Linked DNA regions of Homo sapiens: all the other regions are linked to region 5. Evidence: promoter capture Hi-C in 16 types of primary human blood cells and fetal thymus (Javierre and others, 2016). All regions are on one chromosome and are shown on one strand. The core of a region is centred on a gene start or on the middle of the fragment in contact, and the rest is flanking DNA. Distances in the headings are between cores, read along the strand shown.

Evidence for each region. Contacts are between HindIII fragments. The CHiCAGO score rates a contact against its expected background, and 5 or more counts as called.
Region 1: a contact is called between the fragment with the promoter of NUP98 here and the fragment with the promoter of NAP1L4 in region 5, in 1 of 17 cell types (activated CD4 T cells). The highest score is 5.1, in activated CD4 T cells.
Region 2: a fragment that was not itself captured here is called in contact with the fragment with the promoter of NAP1L4 in region 5 in 1 of 17 cell types (monocytes); the score reaches 5.2 in monocytes.
Region 3: a contact is called between a fragment that was not itself captured here and the fragment with the promoter of NAP1L4 in region 5, in 1 of 17 cell types (neutrophils). The highest score is 5.7, in neutrophils.
Region 4: the fragment with the promoter of KCNQ1 here is called in contact with the fragment with the promoter of NAP1L4 in region 5 in 3 of 17 cell types (activated CD4 T cells, neutrophils and non-activated CD4 T cells); the score reaches 7.7 in activated CD4 T cells.

The regions. Positions count from the first base shown.
Region 1 is chr11:3,795,879-3,799,234 of GRCh38, reverse strand. It overlaps NUP98 (nucleoporin 98 and 96 precursor), which reads left to right and starts at 1,681. Exons shown (of 33, transcript NM_016320.5): 1 at 1,681-1,835. It also overlaps a transcript of PGAP2 not described here. RefSeq lists silencers at 1,665-1,834, 1,915-2,004. The HindIII fragment of the contact is 2,489 bases long and covers 225-2,713 here.
Region 2 is chr11:2,290,772-2,294,007 of GRCh38, reverse strand. No RefSeq gene overlaps it. Among named protein-coding and RNA genes, the nearest start is that of C11orf21, 9.5 kb to the left of the region's middle. The HindIII fragment of the contact is 7,512 bases long and covers 1-3,236 here.
Region 3 is chr11:2,265,086-2,268,399 of GRCh38, reverse strand. No RefSeq gene overlaps it. Among named protein-coding and RNA genes, the nearest start is that of ASCL2, 3.8 kb to the left of the region's middle. The HindIII fragment of the contact is 1,647 bases long and covers 491-2,137 here.
Region 4 is chr11:2,443,600-2,446,757 of GRCh38, reverse strand. It overlaps KCNQ1 (potassium voltage-gated channel subfamily Q member 1), which reads right to left and starts at 1,750. Exons shown (of 16, transcript NM_000218.3): 1 at 1,274-1,750. The coding sequence starts at 1,659. It overlaps TRPM5 (transient receptor potential cation channel subfamily M member 5), which reads left to right and starts at 2,244. Exons shown (of 29, transcript NM_014555.4): 1 at 2,244-2,327. RefSeq lists silencers at 1,761-1,830, 1,841-1,950. The HindIII fragment of the contact is 13,739 bases long and covers 1-3,158 here.
Region 5 is chr11:2,990,505-2,993,738 of GRCh38, reverse strand. It overlaps NAP1L4 (nucleosome assembly protein 1 like 4), which reads left to right and starts at 1,410. Exons shown (of 16, transcript NM_005969.4): 1 at 1,410-1,485. RefSeq lists enhancers at 1,146-1,440, 1,985-2,841. The HindIII fragment of the contact is 4,981 bases long and covers 1-3,051 here.

The DNA.
Region 1 (3,356 bases), core at 432-2,931, 810 kb before region 5:
CACAGTTCCTGCTATGAGACTCTCAGTCACTAAACAGGTCTAGTTTCTAGAAAATGCCCACCTTTCACTCTTGTAATATCAGTTTTCTGCTAATGGGCTAGGCCCCAGAAGGACTTCCAAGAAGAGCCCAAGGCACAGAAAACCGAGGGTAAATAATAGGATACAAAGTGACAAGGCTTTAACAGAGGCCTGCCCAAGCATTAGCTCAACTCGCTGTGAAAGCTTGGCAAATGTATCACTGAGAAGATGGGAACATTTGAAATACCCGTCCTTTAAGAATAAGTAGGGGTTCGGCTGGGCGCGGTGGCTCACGCCTGTAAGGCCAGCACTGTGGGAGGCCGAGGCGGGCGGATCACCTGAGTTCCGGAGTTCGAGACCAGCCTGGCCAACATGGTGAAACCCCATCTCTACTAAAAATACAAAATCAGCTGGGCGCGGCGGCGAGTGCCTGTAATCCCAGCTACTCGGGAGGCTACGACAGGAGACTCTCTTGTACCTGGGAGGCGGAGATTGCAGTGAGCCGAGATCGTGCCACTGCACTCCAGCCTGGGAGAAAGAGGAGACAGAGCAAGACTCCATCTCAAAAAAAAAAAAAAAAATTAGTTCATGGGCGAGGTGGCTCACGTCTGTAATCCCAGCACTTTGGGAGGCCGAGGCGGGTGGATCACTTGAGATCAGGAGTTCGAGACCAGCCTGACCAACACAGTGAAATCCCCGTCTCTACTATAAATACAAAAATTAGCTGGGCCTGGTGGCGGACGCCTGTAATCCCAGCTACTTGGGAGGCTAAGGCGGGAGAATCGCTTGAACCCGGGAGGCAGAGGTTGCAGTGAGCCGAGATTGCGCCAATGCACTCCACCCTAGGCGACAACGCGAGACTTCATCTCAAAAGAAAAAGAAAAAAAAAGAATTAGGGGTTCTCCACGTGCAGCTGGGAAAGACGTTCCAACAATCCTCATTTGTACCAGGCCCTTTGGTGGGCCAGTCCCTTAGGGCATCTCTAATGCTCCTAATGTCCATCCTAGAAATTCAGGGAGGGAAAGAAAGTGCTGGGGCGAGCATGGGTCAGGAGAGAATAGGGTCAGGATTTAGGGCCCTGAAGAAGCCTCGGGCAAACTCTTTGGACAGACAGACCTTCCAAGAGGGCCCTCAGGCTCCGCACGTGGTCTGGGCGGGAAGTGCGGGCAGAGAGACTAGGAAGCCTTCCCAGCAGCGCCGGCGGACCGGGGCAAGGAAAGGGTCGAATAGTTACCATGCCATTCTGGGGCCGTCCCTCTGATTGGCCCGAGCTCCCTCAGCCCGAGTCGCGGCGCTCCAAGGAAGGGGGCGGAGTCTCTATGTTGCGTCACCACCCTTCCCGACACCCCGCCGGTGCTTCCCAATCTAGCCATTCACAAGCCCACTTCGAGAGGCCCTGTGTGACGTCACGACACGCTCCCGCCAACCGCGGCGGCGAGGGGCGGGACTCCACGGCCCTCTCACCGCTCCTACCCTGTGCCTCCCCGAACTCCTTCTGCCCCTCCTCTTCCCTCTCGCCCCTTCCCCCTTCAGTTCGGTTTCAAAAGACGCGTTGCCCAATGAATAACAGGGTCGACCCAGAGTGGCGGCCGCGTCCACCAATTCGCGGACGGCGAGGGCGGAGCGTCCGCAACGAGCCTCTGACGCCGGGCGGCGTGTGACGCAGTCGGGCCCTCTGCGCGCTGCGCCCGAAGCGGCGGTCGGTGGCAGGGGTGGTAGCGGCGGCGGCGACGGTTTCGTGGGGGCCGCGCGCTGCTCTGTGAGCGGCGGGTGGCAGCAGGGGACTCCTGACACTTCCCCTTCCCCACCGAACCGCGGTAAGTCGGGAGCCCGAGCTGCAGCGGCCGAGACCGGCAGGTTTCTCCCCCCTTCCGGGCGGGCGGACGCGCGGGGCGTCTCAGGGCCTCTCCGCTTCGAAGTCTAGCGCCGCTGCGCGCACCTTCTGGCCTGAGAGAGGGGCGGTGCTGAGGACCCGGGGGCCCGGAGCCCGGGAGGCCCGGCTTTGGAGGCCCTGGGAGAGAATGGACATCAGTGGGGTCTAGGCCTGGAGGTCTCCAGTTGCTGCCCACGCGAGTGGGTGTCTGTCTGGTTGTACTCATTCATTCAGTGGTGTAAGGACCCCACGGTGGGCTGGCCTTTCCGGGGTCAGCGCCTTGAAACCCTGAATACGGTCTGCCCCGCACTTCCTTGACCGTCATGTGGGACTGGGCTTTATTTGCCTTGGCTTCTCCATAAGGGAAGTGGGCACCCCGAGGATTAGGGTGAGTCCGAAGTTTGGGAGATTTTTAAGATAATATCTGAGAATAGGAGTCGGTTCGGTGGAGCAAAAGGTTCTTTTCTATTTTCCCACGTGTTCAGTGTAAAGCCAGATGAGGAGACAGATTGAGTTTCTGGATTACTATAGCCATAAGGACTTTAGAAATTGTTTAAGTCAATCCCCCTACCTTACATCAGTTTTGTAGATGGGGAAACCGAGGCCCGGAGTAACAGGCAGGATTAGCCAATGCCAGATTTTTGACAGTCTAAACAGTTTTCTACTACCTCACCCTCCCTGGATATTTCAGTCTCCCATTATTAAGAATTCCCTTTAGGAGGTCGGTGCGGCATGGACATTAGGTAGCTAAACGTAGATGTAGTCTTCACAGCGTTTTCCGTTTAGTTGCTACCAGCTCTGTTCACGGGTAAGGTGGAAGCTTCGTTAGTGGTACCCTAACCTAGAGCTTGAGAACTAAACTTAGAAGATGGTTAAAGAACGTCAGCGTTGTTATGTATCGGAAACAAATCGGTAAAACTACAAGCCATTGTTTCCCTTTCTAAATCTGAATTTTTTGACTTGTGTCAGCTGATGAGGACTCGGAGTCAGTTAGGGATTTATAACAGTACTGGAATAGAAAGCAGGAAATATTGATAAGACTTAGAAAGCCAGGTAGGAGTCCGTTTGTAGTAGTTGTACCTCGGAACTCATGGCTCCTTTCAGGTACAGAATTCAAAGTGAAGTATTATAGTAGAATAAGGTGAGGAAATAAAACTCCGTTTTGGAGGAAGAAGCTAACTGGAATAAAGAGCAAAAAGAGAGCAGTGATCATTCCCTGTGACGGTCTTACAAATTCGAAAAGAAACTCGAGTTAACTGGGTTACAGTATGTTTACCTGGTGGAGGAAGTTAGGGTATTTAAAAACCAAAACTAGAGGTTGGACAGGATAAAGGTACTGGGAAATACTTGGGTAAAATTATTCTTTTTGACTCTTCAGATTTGATGAAATTGAATTAGTTGACACTTGGTTCTGTACACATCAGTAAGATTGTTACTTTGTTCTTGTATAGATGACAAAGCATAA
Region 2 (3,236 bases), core at 594-3,093, 700 kb after region 5:
AACTCTAGGTCCTCTTGGTGTAGAAGTCTGAGTTCTCGAGGGAGGAGAGTTTCCCGCAGAGACACCAACGGCTCCACCAGACTGGAAGGTGAGATTGCACCAGGCCATTTTGGGATCCTCACTGCAGAGAATCAATAGGTAAAAAAGGCAGTTACTGCCCGGGCCACGGGACTGATTTTATCGGGCGGAATCGGCCGGGTTGCACAAGGAGGATGAGGAGGAGCACGTCTGGAATGCGGAGGGTCCCCTGCAGCGCCTCTTAAGGTTCCCATGTCCTGTGATTAAAATCATGGAAAACCATCACCCCTGATCCAAGCAGGGTCATTCAGGACCCAGGCTCTCCAGGAATGAAGGCTTAGGGCATCCCACCAGGCAAAGAGCCACATCAGCTGAGTGCTTGCGGAGGCGAAGGCTATGCGGGAGACGGAGGCTGAAACGCTAGTTCCCGCTGCTCGGCTGCTGCAGAAACGAAGCCTATCACAGGTGTGCGTGTTTCTTATTTTGATCCGAGTGTATTGGGTAGGACCACATTAGCCACTGTTTCTTCTCCTCTTCCATTCCCTACCACTTCATACGGTACTAGTGTATGAAGTGTACGTTTGATAGTAGTTGATATTTAATTATTTCAAACATCTCAGTGTTTAAATTTTAGGCTATCAGGCTGGGCACGGTGGCTCAGGCATGTAATCTTAGCACTTTGGGAGGCTGAGGCAGGCGAATCACCTGAGGTCAGGAGTTTGAGACCAGCCTGGCCAATGTGGTGAAACCCCGTCTCTACTAAAAATACAAAAATTAGCCGGGCGTGATGGCCCGTGCCTGTTATCCCAGCTATGTGAGAGGCTGAGGCAGGAGAATTGCTTGAACCCAGGAGGTGGAGGTTGCAGTGAGCCGAGATTGCACTACTGCACTCCAGCCTGGCTGACAGAGTCTGTCTCAAAAAAAAAAAAAAAAAAAAAAAAAAAAAATTAGGATATCAAAGGGAGAATGAGAATCAGCTGAATCCCATTCCAGCTGAATCCTATTCCCCCTTTGATTTTTTTTTTTTTTTTTTAAGGGGAAGAACACCCAGAGATGAATCAGGATCAGGGGCTCTCCTCTTCTCTGGGGGAGAGGGGGACATGCTGTTCTCTTGTATACGCTTGGCCACATCTTGTTGGGTGGAAGAGGGATTTGACTTTGTCTTTATTTGGAAGTTAAGTATGATTAAAAATTGTGGGTGGGGAATCAGAGGACCCCATTTGTATGAAATGTCCAGAACGTGCAACTCCATGGAGGTGGGAAGTGGGTCAGTGTTTGGCAGAGGCTGGGGCAAGGGGAGCGGCTGCTAGTGAGTGGGGAGTTGTTTTTGGGGGTGCTGCGGGTGGCACGCCTCTGTGAAAATACTAAAGCGGGGAGTTGTTTTTGGGGGTGCTGAGGGAGGCACGCCTCTGTGAATATACTAAAGCGGGGAGTTGTTTTTGGGGGTGCTGCGGGTGGCACGCCTCTGTGAATATACTGAAGTAGGGAGTTGTTTTTGGGGGTGCTGCGGGTGGCACGCCTCTGTGAATATACTGAAGCGGGGAGTTGTTTTTGGGGGTGCTGAGGGAGGCACGCCTCTGAATATACTAAAGCGGGGAGTTGTTTTTGGGGGTGCTGCGGGTGGCACGCCTCTGCGAATATACTAAAGCGGGGAGTTGTTTTTGGGGGTGCTGCGGGTGGCACGCCTCTGAATATACTAAAGCGGGGAGTTGTTTTTGGGGGTGCTGCGGGTGGCACGCCTCTGAATATACTAAAGCGGGGAGTTGTTTTTGGGGGTGCTGCGGGTGGCACGCCTCTGTGAATATACTAAAGCGGGGAGTTGTTTTTGGGGGTGCTGAGGGAGGCACGCCTCTGCGAATAAAGTGGGGAGTTGTTTTTGGGGGTGCTGCGGGTGGCACGCCTCTGTGAATAAAGCGGGGAGTTGTTTTTGGGGGTGCTGCGGGTGGCACGCCTCTGTGAATATACTGAAGCGGGGAGTTGTTTTTGGGGGTGCTGCGGGTGGCACGCCTCTGTGAATATACTAAAGCGGGGAGTTGTTTTTGGGGGTGCTGAGGGAGGCACGCCTCTGAATATACTAAAGCAGGGAGTTGTTTTTGGGGGTGCTGCGGGAGGCACGCCTCTGTGAATATACTGAAGCAGGGAGTTGTTTTTGGGGGTGCTGCGGGTGGCACGCCTCTGAATATACTAAAGCGGGGAGTTGTTTTTGGGGGTGCTGCGGGTGGCACGCCTCTGAATATACTAAAGCGGGGAGTTGTTTTTGGGGGTGCTGCGGGTGGCACGCCTCTGTGAATAAAGCGGGGAGTTGTTTTTGGGGGTGCTGCGGGAGGCACACCTCTGCGAATAAAGTGGGGAGTTGTTTTTGGGGGTGCTGCGGGTGGCACGCCTCTGTGAATAAAGCGGGGAGTTGTTTTTGGGGGTGCTGCGGGTGGCACGCCTCTGTGAATATACTGAAGCGGGGAGTTGTTTTTGGGGGTGCTGCGGGTGGCACGCCTCTGTGAATATACTAAAGCGGGGAGTTGTTTTTGGGGGTGCTGAGGGAGGCACGCCTCTGAATATACTAAAGCAGGGAGTTGTTTTTGGGGGTGCTGCGGGAGGCACGCCTCTGTGAATATACTGAAGCAGGGAGTTGTTTTTGGGGGTGCTGCGGGTGGCACGCCTCTGAATATACTAAAGCGGGGAGTTGTTTTTGGGGGTGCTGCGGGTGGCATGCCTCTGTGAATAAAGCGGGGAATTGTTTTTGGGGGTGCTGCGGGAGGCACACCTCTGCGAATATACTAAAGCGGGGAGTTGTTTTTGGGGGTGCTGCGGGAGGCACACCTCTGCGAATATACTAAAGCGGGGAGTTGTTTTTGGGGGTGCTGCGGGAGGCACGCCTCTGCGAATAAAGTGGGGAGTTGTTTTTGGGGGTGCTGCGGGTGGCACGCCTCTGCGAATATACTAAAGCGGGGAGTTGTTTTTGGGGGTGCTGAGGGAGGCATGCTTCTGTGAATATACTAAAAGCCCCTGAATGGTACAGTTAAAACAGTGAATTTTATAGTATGTGAATTATATTTCAATAAAGCTGTGTAGAAAACAAGAGGTACAGGTGGAAGCCCATGGGAGGGATTGGCACAGTGTCGCCCTAGCTGAGCGGGATGTTCATCTTCCAGGACTCCCGGAGCTGCCTTGTTAAGGGTAGGGTGGGTCACACGTGGCCTGAGCCAGCTCTGGGTGGTGGA
Region 3 (3,314 bases), core at 65-2,564, 730 kb after region 5:
TGAGATCTGGAGTGCAGCCAGGCCGTTGATAGCGGAGCCATTGGGACACCTTGTGAGGCTGGGGGCATCCTCCAGGAGGTGGTGGGCTGGTGGGTTGTCCAGACAGGGCTACTCGCTGGCTTGGAAGCTGCAGGCTGGAGGCTGCTGACCCATCCCGAGGGCTGGGGTAAGTGCTGGGTGTGGGGCTAGGCTGAGGTGGTCTGACCAGAGAGCACCGGCTGTGGGGCTGAGGGCATGGGCTCCTGCGCAGGCCACCACGCTCAGATCTCCACTAACGTGGCAGCTGGGCAGCCCAGGGCAAGTGGGTTAACTTGCAAATGGGTTTGACCAGACCCACCTCAACGGCCTCTGGGAGGAGTTAGTGAGAGGTGCCTGGAGGCTGCCCTCTCGCTAGCTTTGGGTTTTGCCCGCACTGGGGAGGCCCTGCAGGTCTCCGCTCACCTGAATTCTAAGAGCGGCTCTTGAAAGGAACAAGGAAGGCTTGGAAGCTTTGCGCCAGGCTCCCCGCAGCCGGAGAGCTGGCACTGGGATATTACACGGCTATACCTTTGACTCAGGGCCTAGGAGGCTTTGATGTCTCACTGTACCGAAAGCTGCCTTTTAGTGTCCTGGTGGGGGAGGGGTTGTGGGGCTCCCCCGGTTTCTTTAGGGCGCAGAGGCACCCCTTCCTTCAGAAAGGAGTGGTTGGGACAGAGCCGTGGGAGCCCTGCGAGGTGGGAGCAGCTGGTGTTGTCCCAGAGTGGGTGGCTCCTGAATAACCACGGCAACAGGACACCCAGGCTACCGGGATGCCTGGGTCTCAAACGTCAGGCTGGCCAGGTCCCTTCTTATCAGAGGAGCTCAGGGCTCCTCTCTCGCCAGCTGCAGCCTCAGTCCAGGTGGGGGCTCCTCAGCAGCCAAGGTCAAAGCCGAGTCTGTAGCGGGGGTCAAAGGGGTCAGCTGGTCTGATGAGGACCAGGCTCAACTGGGGTCAGTGGACCAGCTGTGGCTTGGGGCTGCAGGGCTCAGGGAACTGGCCTTGGCCAAGGGACAGGAGGGGGCACATTGCCGTGGTCACCCAGGGAGGGACATCCCACAGGCTTCTCCCAGAATCCACACCCGGGTCGGTGGCCTCCCTGAGCCCTCCCCAGGACTCCACACCTTGACCTCAAGGAAAGGCCCACAGCTGCCAGGACCACAGGGGGCTGTTGGGTGGGTGAAGAGGGTAGGGGGGAAACGATGGAAGGCCAGGGCAGAGGAAACGACTGCCACCCACTGGCGTGAAGCGGACAAAACTCTGCAGAGGGTAAGTAGTGCTGCCATTTTTGTTTTCCCATTTTCCCATTTTTCATTTTATTATGGAAAATTTCAAACATACACAAAAGCACCGAGGCCTTTGTTGAGCAGTCTCTGTGCCAGGACTTAGGGTGCATCCGTGTGCCACACAAGCCCGTGCTCGTGGAGCCTGGGTCCTAGCAGTGGACACAGGATCCAACCGTTGTACAGTCTGGCCGGTGGAGGACGCACTGGGCTCCAGGGCAGCCCTGGGAAGCCTCCAGCACCAGTTTCAAGGCCCTTCCTGCCCCATCCATCCCCCACGCCATCCCTGCGTTGCTTTGAAGCAAATCCCAGACTTTGAATCCTTTCACCCGTCATGTTTCACGTGTGCCTCTAAAGGAAACCGCAAAAACATCACCCGCTCAAATGAACCACCGTTCTTTCATATCATCGGGGACCCAGCCAATGGCGCAGTCCTCAGGGGGTCTCGTGGTTTTGTGCAGTTGGCCTTATAGAATCGGGATCCGCCGCAGGTCCACACATCAAGTTTGCTTAATAGGTCTCTTAAGCGCCTTGTAAGCAATTTCCCTCCAGTGTCTTCATTGAAGAAGCGGAGATGTCTGTTCCGTTGAGCCCCCGTGTGCGTGGTGGTGTTGATGGCACCGTGCTGGGTGTTGTTATTGGGAGCCTGTCCCTGTATTTCCTGTAGGACAGGGTATGGGGTGCCAGAAGCGGACCTTTGATCAAGTTTGGGGTGGCCTGCAAATGGGGTTGACACCAGGCCCACCTAATGAGTGTGACAGAGATGCCAAGAAAGATCCGTTCCAGGGAGACAAGGGACTCCCTTTCCGAGTTTGCCTCGAGAACTACCCAGCAAGCTTGTGGAAACTTCCATAGACCTCACAGCGATCTAGGCCCAGGCTATCCCCTCGCCTTCACTGGGGCAGAATCGCGTCGTGGTCTAGTGGCTTCCCACCCGTTGCCACCTCCTTCCTGTGTATTTCCTTTCACACGGGCGTTTCCCCGAATGCAGTCCTTATCCAGTTCATCCCACTTGGCACCTGCTGCTCAGAGGATGTAGTGCTGCTGGACTGCATCTCCCAGGAGACAGGACTTGTAGCGACGATGTAACTTGCTGTCCCAGCGGGGACATTTTTGAGACTGGAAAGGGCTGTGGTTGATAACCAGGACCACAGGCGAGTCTCCTGGGCACAGTGGGCTGCTGATTGCCGTGTTATGAAGACCCCTCCCCACACTGTCATTCACCCAGTGCCCAGTAAAGATGAAGTGCCTGAAGTCACAGGCAAGCTGGTCCAACCCACCTTCTCTTGCTGTCGTTTTGTTTTAGGCTCTCAGCAGCCTAAAGTCATGGTTTTAGTTTCTGTCTCTAGTGATAAGCAGAAAAGAGGGATGAGGAAGGGACCCTGCTGGCTCAACCAGAAACAGAAACTAAGAATCCATGACTGTCTTCTCTCCCTTGGACTCAGCTTGAAAATGATGAGAATTGAGATTTAAGCCCTGGACTCTTTCACTTCCACATTCTTGCAATGTTCACGCCTTCCAGGAAGTGAGGCTGAGCCTGGCGGCTCCTTTGGGGACATGACATCCTTAGCAGTTCAGCATTTGAGATCAGTGAGCCTGGACAGAGCCTCACCTGGCCCAGGTGCCAGCCTGTCCTGGGCTCTGCTGTGGGGGCAGCAGGGCTCTGCTAGGAGCTCATGGTCCAGGCCTAGTCCCCACCTGGAAGTTAGAAACTGATTCCAGGGAGAAGGTGATCGTGATGTCATGTTCAAGGTGCTAAAATATAAAGCATTTTTCTTTCTTCTATAGTCAACCTCTTGACTTACTATTTTATACTTCTTATTTTATACTCACTATTTAATGCCATTCTGAGTAAGAAAGATTAGGAATTTAAGTGACTAGCGTGAATGTAGTTATCCATCTTTATATTATGTGATGCCAGTTTAAAATGCAAGCATAAGAGCATTTAACTTCTATGCGGAATCACTGGAATGACACAGTGTGTGTTTTGTCCTGGCACAGGCGTCTCTATTTCA
Region 4 (3,158 bases), core at 501-3,000, 550 kb after region 5:
GGGAGCTGGGGTGGGGAAAAGTCTCCAAGATCACCCCCCAACCACATCTTTGAGGAGGGAGGTGGGTAAGACTTCCCCTTCCTGATGTGGAAGGCCACCTCTTAGCAAGGAAGGCAGTAGCCCTGCGACCCCTACCCCACCCCCTCACCTGAGACGATGCTTGAAGCCATTTGGGGCCTGGCTCCTGCTGTCACCCGCCCTGAGGCCCTGGTGGCAGCTGCCAGCAGGCATGGACAGGCCTCTGGATGCCCTCCAGCCAGTTCTCTACTGAGCCTGCCCGAGGCAGAGGAGATGCTTCCACCTGAGGACGCTCAGGGAGACCACCCTTCAGCCCTCAGGTGAGCCCCACAGCCATCAGCCATGGGATGTCTGGGTAGAGGCTCCCAGGCCAGAGGCTGGCACCACACCAAAAGGCCGCTGGCTGGGCAGCCAGGAAGTAGGGCCACTGGGGCAGCGGGGGAAGGCCCCAGGCAGGCATGGAGGAGAGCAGCCTGGACCTTCCCGGAGGTGACTTCCCAGGCCTGTCCCTGAGAAATCCAGTGCCCAGCCCTGCTCAGGCACGCTGTACCGGGAATTGGAACCACCTGGTAACAGGGGGGCCAGGTGCCTCTGCTACCAGCGCTGCTTTCTCCGGGAGCACAGCTGCCTCTTAGTGAGAGCTGCAAACGTGCCTCTCCGCTCTCTGCATCAAGCCAGGTTTTCATGAGCTTGGTTCAATTAGTTAATGTGGGGCCCGTGGGGACGGCCCGTGGCATGCTGAGCCCTCAGGGAGCACCGCCACCGTCACCTTCCTATCCTGGACAGCCCCCTGCCCCAGAGTCCACCTGGGCCTCAGGGGGTCTGAGATGCGGCACCGGACATCAGGGGCCTTCTCTCTTGGGGGCTCCTGAGCCTCGAGTCTCAGCCGACCTTGAGGAGTTATCTTACTGCACCCAAGGGTGCGCTCCCCAGCACGCTTCTCTTCCCAGAAGGATTCACACCTGGACTACCCTCCCGGAGGTGTGGAGCCAAATTCTGGGCTCCAGGTGGTCCCCTCCCCAGCCGGCTCCCTCCCCACGCCGGGCCTGCGAGAAGATGCGCACCCCCAGACACAGCAGCGCCTCTGAACTTCAAGGGAGAGTGCAGAGTTTGTGTTTCTGCGTTTCCCCACTTCCTTCCCTCCTCTGCTCCGGGGTCGCAGCTCCGACGGGGCAGGTGGCGCTGGGACAGAGCTCCCCCACACCAGCTCTCAGGAAGCACCTTCGTGCCGGCCGTCGCCGGTGGCGATACTCACACGGCGAAGTGGTAAACGAAGCATTTCCAGCCGGTGGGACGCTCGAGGAAGTTGTAGACGCGGCCCTGGACGTGGGTGCGCGCCAACACCGGGCGGCGCGTGCTGTAGATGGAGACGCGCGGGTCTAGGCTCACCGGCGGCCGCGGGCCAAGGTCGGAGGCAACTGGGGGCGCGGCGGGCGCGGCCGGGGACGCAGGGGGCGCGGGACCTGGGGCGCCGGGCGCGATGGGCGCGTAGAGCGCGCCGCCCGCCGGGCCGCCCTCCGCCAGCTCCAGCGAGAAGGGGCACTTCTTGGCCAGGCCCGCGCTGCCCCGCCGGGCGCCTGGCAGGCGGCCCCAACCCCAGCGCTTCCTCTCGGCCCTGGGCGGGGAGGAGGCCGCGGCCATAACGAGGAGGGCCTGCCGGGGGGCCGGCCCGAGCGGCGGCACCGGGAGCTGCAGCGAAGGCGAGCGCCCGGGCGCAGTGCGGGCAGCCACTGCTGCCAGCCCCGCCGCGGGGGGCCGCTGCCGGCCCAGCCCGGGCGCTCGGGGCGGGGCCGGAGGGGGCAGTGGCCGAGGGCCGGTCCCATGGGACGGCGTGCCCCGCCCCCGCCTGCACGCCCCGCCCCCGCCGGTCCGGCGCGCACAGGGCGTCCCTGCCCGCGCCCACCGGCTTGGCCCGCCCTCTCCCCACGGACCGGCCTGGCCCTGCCTCCGCCTCACCCCCTGGCTTGGCCTGTCCGCGCCCCCGCCCCCGCCTGCGCCCCCGCCCCCACCCCCACCCCCGCCCGAGCCCACCTGCTTAGCCCCGCTCGTGTCATCTATCCCGCTTGGCCCCGCCCCCTCCTCGCCCACCTGTTTGGCCCCGTTCCAGTGTGCATTTACCCCGCCTGGCCCCGCCCCCTCCCCGCCCACCTGCTTGGCCCCGCCCTCACCCACCTGCTTGGCCCCGCCCCGTCTGCATCTCCCCTGCTTGCTCCTGCCCTGCCCTCACCCACCTGCTTGGCCCCCACTTCTGATGCCCGCCTGCTCTGCCTGGCCCGGAGGAGGACCCCAGCTGCGCCAGGGAGGAAGGGGTAAGGCCTGGCCGATACCACGACCGAGAACGGCACAGCGGGGGCAGGAGGGGCGGGGTAGGGTGCCGGCATCTACTTTCCCTCCCTCTGAGCCACTCCGGAGTTGGGGTTGGGGGGAGGAAAGGGATGTCCTGGGTGAGGGTGTGCTGGCCCCGCGATCACTGTGAGCGCCCCCGGGTGCCCAGGCGCGCGAGCTGCGGGCGGCGAATACGCTCGGGTCGCTTCCCACCAGGGCCCTTGGACCGGGAGGGTGAGATGGGACCACCACTGTCAGGTACCTCCCAGTGGGAGCTGTGTGGGTGGGGAGCCGGCAGGGCTGCTGGGGGGTGGGGGCGGCACAGCCGGGGTCTGGACCTGGTTTGACTGCCGGGCATAGCAGGCGGGGCTGCCTGGGCAGTTAAAGGGAGAGGCGCTTGCGCCACCCTAGTAACTTGGAGAATGGGCGCCTTGTCCTCCCCACCGTCGAGACCGCGCTGCCGCTGCGCCCCGTGGATTCCCCTGGGTGGGGGTGGGTTGGTCACATCGGAAGATTTTCACAGGTCTCTGCACTGCCTCCCGCCCGCTACTGGCATTTGGGTCTCAGCACGTCTCAGGCTTGGGGGGGGGGTGGGGGGCAGCCAACAGAAGAGACCGGCTTTTTTCAGGATACTGCACACAGCCCTGAGGCAGGGACTAAAGGTGGAGCTCAGCGGTGACTCTCCGCCCCGCCAGGAGACCCATAACTCATGTGACACTTCCAGGTCGTCCCTGAGCACCCTGGGTCAATTTGATGTATCTACCACCCCCTGCCAAAAGTCTGCTCTTTTATCGTGGACGGAGTCCAGCCCAGGC
Region 5 (3,234 bases), core at 161-2,660:
AGTAGCTGGTATTACAGGCCTGAGCCACCACGCCTGGGTAATTTTTTGTTGTTGTTGTTTTTGGAGCAGGGGAAGGGTGCTCTATGTTGCCCAGGCTGGACTTGTTGCCTCTGCCTCCCAGAGTGCTGGGTTTACAGGCCTGAGCCACGGCGCTCCGCATTAATTTCTTTTTAGAGATGAGGTTTCACTATGTTGCCCAGGCTGGACTTGAATTTCTGGGCTCAAGGAATCCTCCTGCCTCAGCCTCCCAGCTTACCTCTGAGGTTTATAACCGACGCTATGTTCTTAATCCCTCAACCAGGAGCCTTTAAATGGTTTCAAATTTTCCCCATTACAGGAATAACTTGCTAATAATAATAATAATTAGCAATTGTTTCAAAAGTAACGTCATCCCAAAAGAGAACGTTTCTGAAAAAAATGCACATTAGACTTGAAGACCCCCAATGGCACGGTTGAACATGGAAATGAACCAGCCTCAAAAGTCCCAGCGTAGGGGTTATTTTCCAATCAAATTGGATGCCTTTCTACAAAATGTGATGTGCACAGGCTGGGGCTGGTACCTTCACCCCAGCCCAGAGGGCACCATGAGAGGGAGAACAGGGCGGGCGAAACAGGCCAGCTCCTCCCCAGCCCTCTGCCCTGCTCTGCTTCAGGGGGCTGATCTGAGGGCCCAGTGCGCACTGCTTTTCCTCCTTGTCCGACAGGGTCTCCCGCAGGCCAGAACTAGGCTGCTGGGACACTGCGGGGCTCAGGGCGTGGGGGAAGAGATGCAGGCAGTGGCTAGTCCCGTCCTGTCCGCGGAGGTGACCCAGCCCCGACCTCTTCGCAGAGGAAGTGTTCTCCAACCTGGGACCTGGGGGATGAGCGGGGGTTAGGCTTACGTCCCAACCACTAACGGGGCTGGTTGAAAACGGCTCCCAGGCGGAGGGGCCCTCCGCGATGTTCTCAAGGAGTAGCGCGAGGGGACGACATGGGAGGTGGGGTTCTCACATCAGCGGGCGCACGGAGTGCTGGAGGCACCGACCCGCCGCGGACGGGATTGAACTAGGGAACTGGGAGGGCGCAGGAGATAAAGACGGCTGGGGCCGGGGCCCACGGAGAGGGGTGGTGCCCAGTGTCCCGCGAGGATGTGGTGCCACCCGGGGAAGGTCCCGGGAGCGGGGACCCGGGACCCCCCGGAACCACACACGCGGTCTCCACCTTGCCCCGCCCCATTTAAAGAGGCGGAGGAACGCAGGGCGCGCGCCGCGCGGAGGAATATTTGCATATGGCGCGGCGTTTCTTCGGAGGCTTGTGATTGGTTGCTGACTGCGGCGCGAAGCGCAGTTGACTTGCGCCGCGCTCGGCGAATCGCAGCCTGTCTTGCTCGCGGAGAGAGGAGCTAGGAGCCTCGGCCAATGGGAGCCGGCGTTGTTGGAGGCCACGGCGGCGCAGCCCCAAAGCGAGCGAAGCTAGGGTCGCCGCCACTGCCGCAGGAGGCGTGAGGTGCGGAGACACGGGTGCTGGGCCGGTAACGGCGCGCTGGGGAGGGCGGCCGGGCCCGGACGGGCGGGTGGGGCCGCGGGTCCGGCGCGGGCGCGGCGGCGGCCATCTCTGGAAGCCTCGGGGCGGTGGGGCAGGGGCGGGGCCGCGTTCTGGTCGGGGCAGGCAGCGGCGGCCGCGGCGGGGCCTGGGGCTTGGGGCCTGGAGCCCGGGCCTGGGGCGCTGGCGGGAGGCCCCTCCCAACTCCCGGCGCGCCTCGCCCGGCTGCCCGCCTCACTGAAGGTCAAGGCGCTTTGTTCTGCGCCGCGGGCGGCCTCCTGGGCGGCGGCCCCTTGGAGGAGGCGAAGACGGCGAGAGGCGGCGGCCGCTCAAATCTCCCGCTAGCCCAGCCCGCCCCGCGTGCGGGGGCTGTGGCGGTTACACGGCCGGGCGCGCCGGAGCGTTCAGGCTTCCCGTTTTTAAGGTGGAGACGTCCAGGACTTCTTTATTAGATGTTTAGGAATTTGAGTTTTTCCGTAGGGCGGTTGTCATCGTGAGCCTCTGTGGGGTCAGGCTGGGCTAACTGGGGTTTTGATGTCAGTTTGGTGTGGCCGAGGGCATGTCTGACGGGGAAGAAAGTCCTTGGCGTTGCTTCTTAGCTGTTGGGAGCTGTGCGGTGGGAGCGAGCTGGGCGGCGTGCGCTCCCCGAGGACTGGCCTGAGTGGCCTTAGACTAGTTACTCACGGGACTTGGTTTCCCAGCCAAGGTGGGCAGCAAGTCTGTTTACTATTTAAAACCGTCTTTCACAAGGGAAAAGCAAAATCTCCAAAAAAAAAAATTGTACATGTTATGGATGGGAAAGTGCCATGCTTTTCTTTCAGTTCAGAGATGGTGGAAGAGGTCACATTTGTATTTTTTGACCTGACCAGAGTCTTTGTTGTTTTCAATTTTCCCCTTCTGAATGCTTTCCGTTCACCCCAGCGAAGGATGGCCTGGTCATGATAAGACTTTCCACCGTCCACAGTTCTCTAAGTCTGATTGCGGGGCAGGAGGCAGACATGTTTAGGGTCCAGTAAAGGGGACTCCAGCCTTGGGACCTTTAGACCCTAACGTGTGTGTCACATCACCTGCCTGGGTGACTGTGCGCTCCTCTGGCAGGAAGGTCCGCCATTTCATTATGTTCTCGGAGGAATCGTCGGGGCACATTCGTCTGTGCTTTGGTTCGCATCCCCCAGTCTGCATTACTTTTTCCTGTAGTAACCCGTGCCTTATCCTCCTGCATTAGGTTTACGGGGTGAAAATAGACTTTTAAAAATTCTCTTACCTTAGAAATATACAAATATGTAGATTAGGTTGTTGGACCTTAAAGGTAAGTCTTTCTAAGTTACTACCTTCCTGTAATAGTAACTATACCTCTAAATGACTAATACCTGCACTGCGCACCAGGGACTCTTTCAGCCTGTTTGCGTGTGTTAACTCATTTCATAATCTAATAACCTGAGATAGATGCTATTGTTTTTCCATTTAACTACTCTGGAAGCTGAGGCCCTGGGAGGTTAGGTATAATGACTTGTCCGAGGTGACAAAGCTTAAAGACCCAGGCAGTTTTAACTGTACCCAGGGTTACTGCTTCTGTAGAGGGAATGAAAGAAGTTTTAATGAGAAATTGTTTTCATCATTGTGCTAAGCTTAACTGAACTCTAGCTTACGAGGTTTTGAGCTGGTTGATCATTTCCATCTCAAAATTCTCTTATTCCACAGAATGCCAAATGC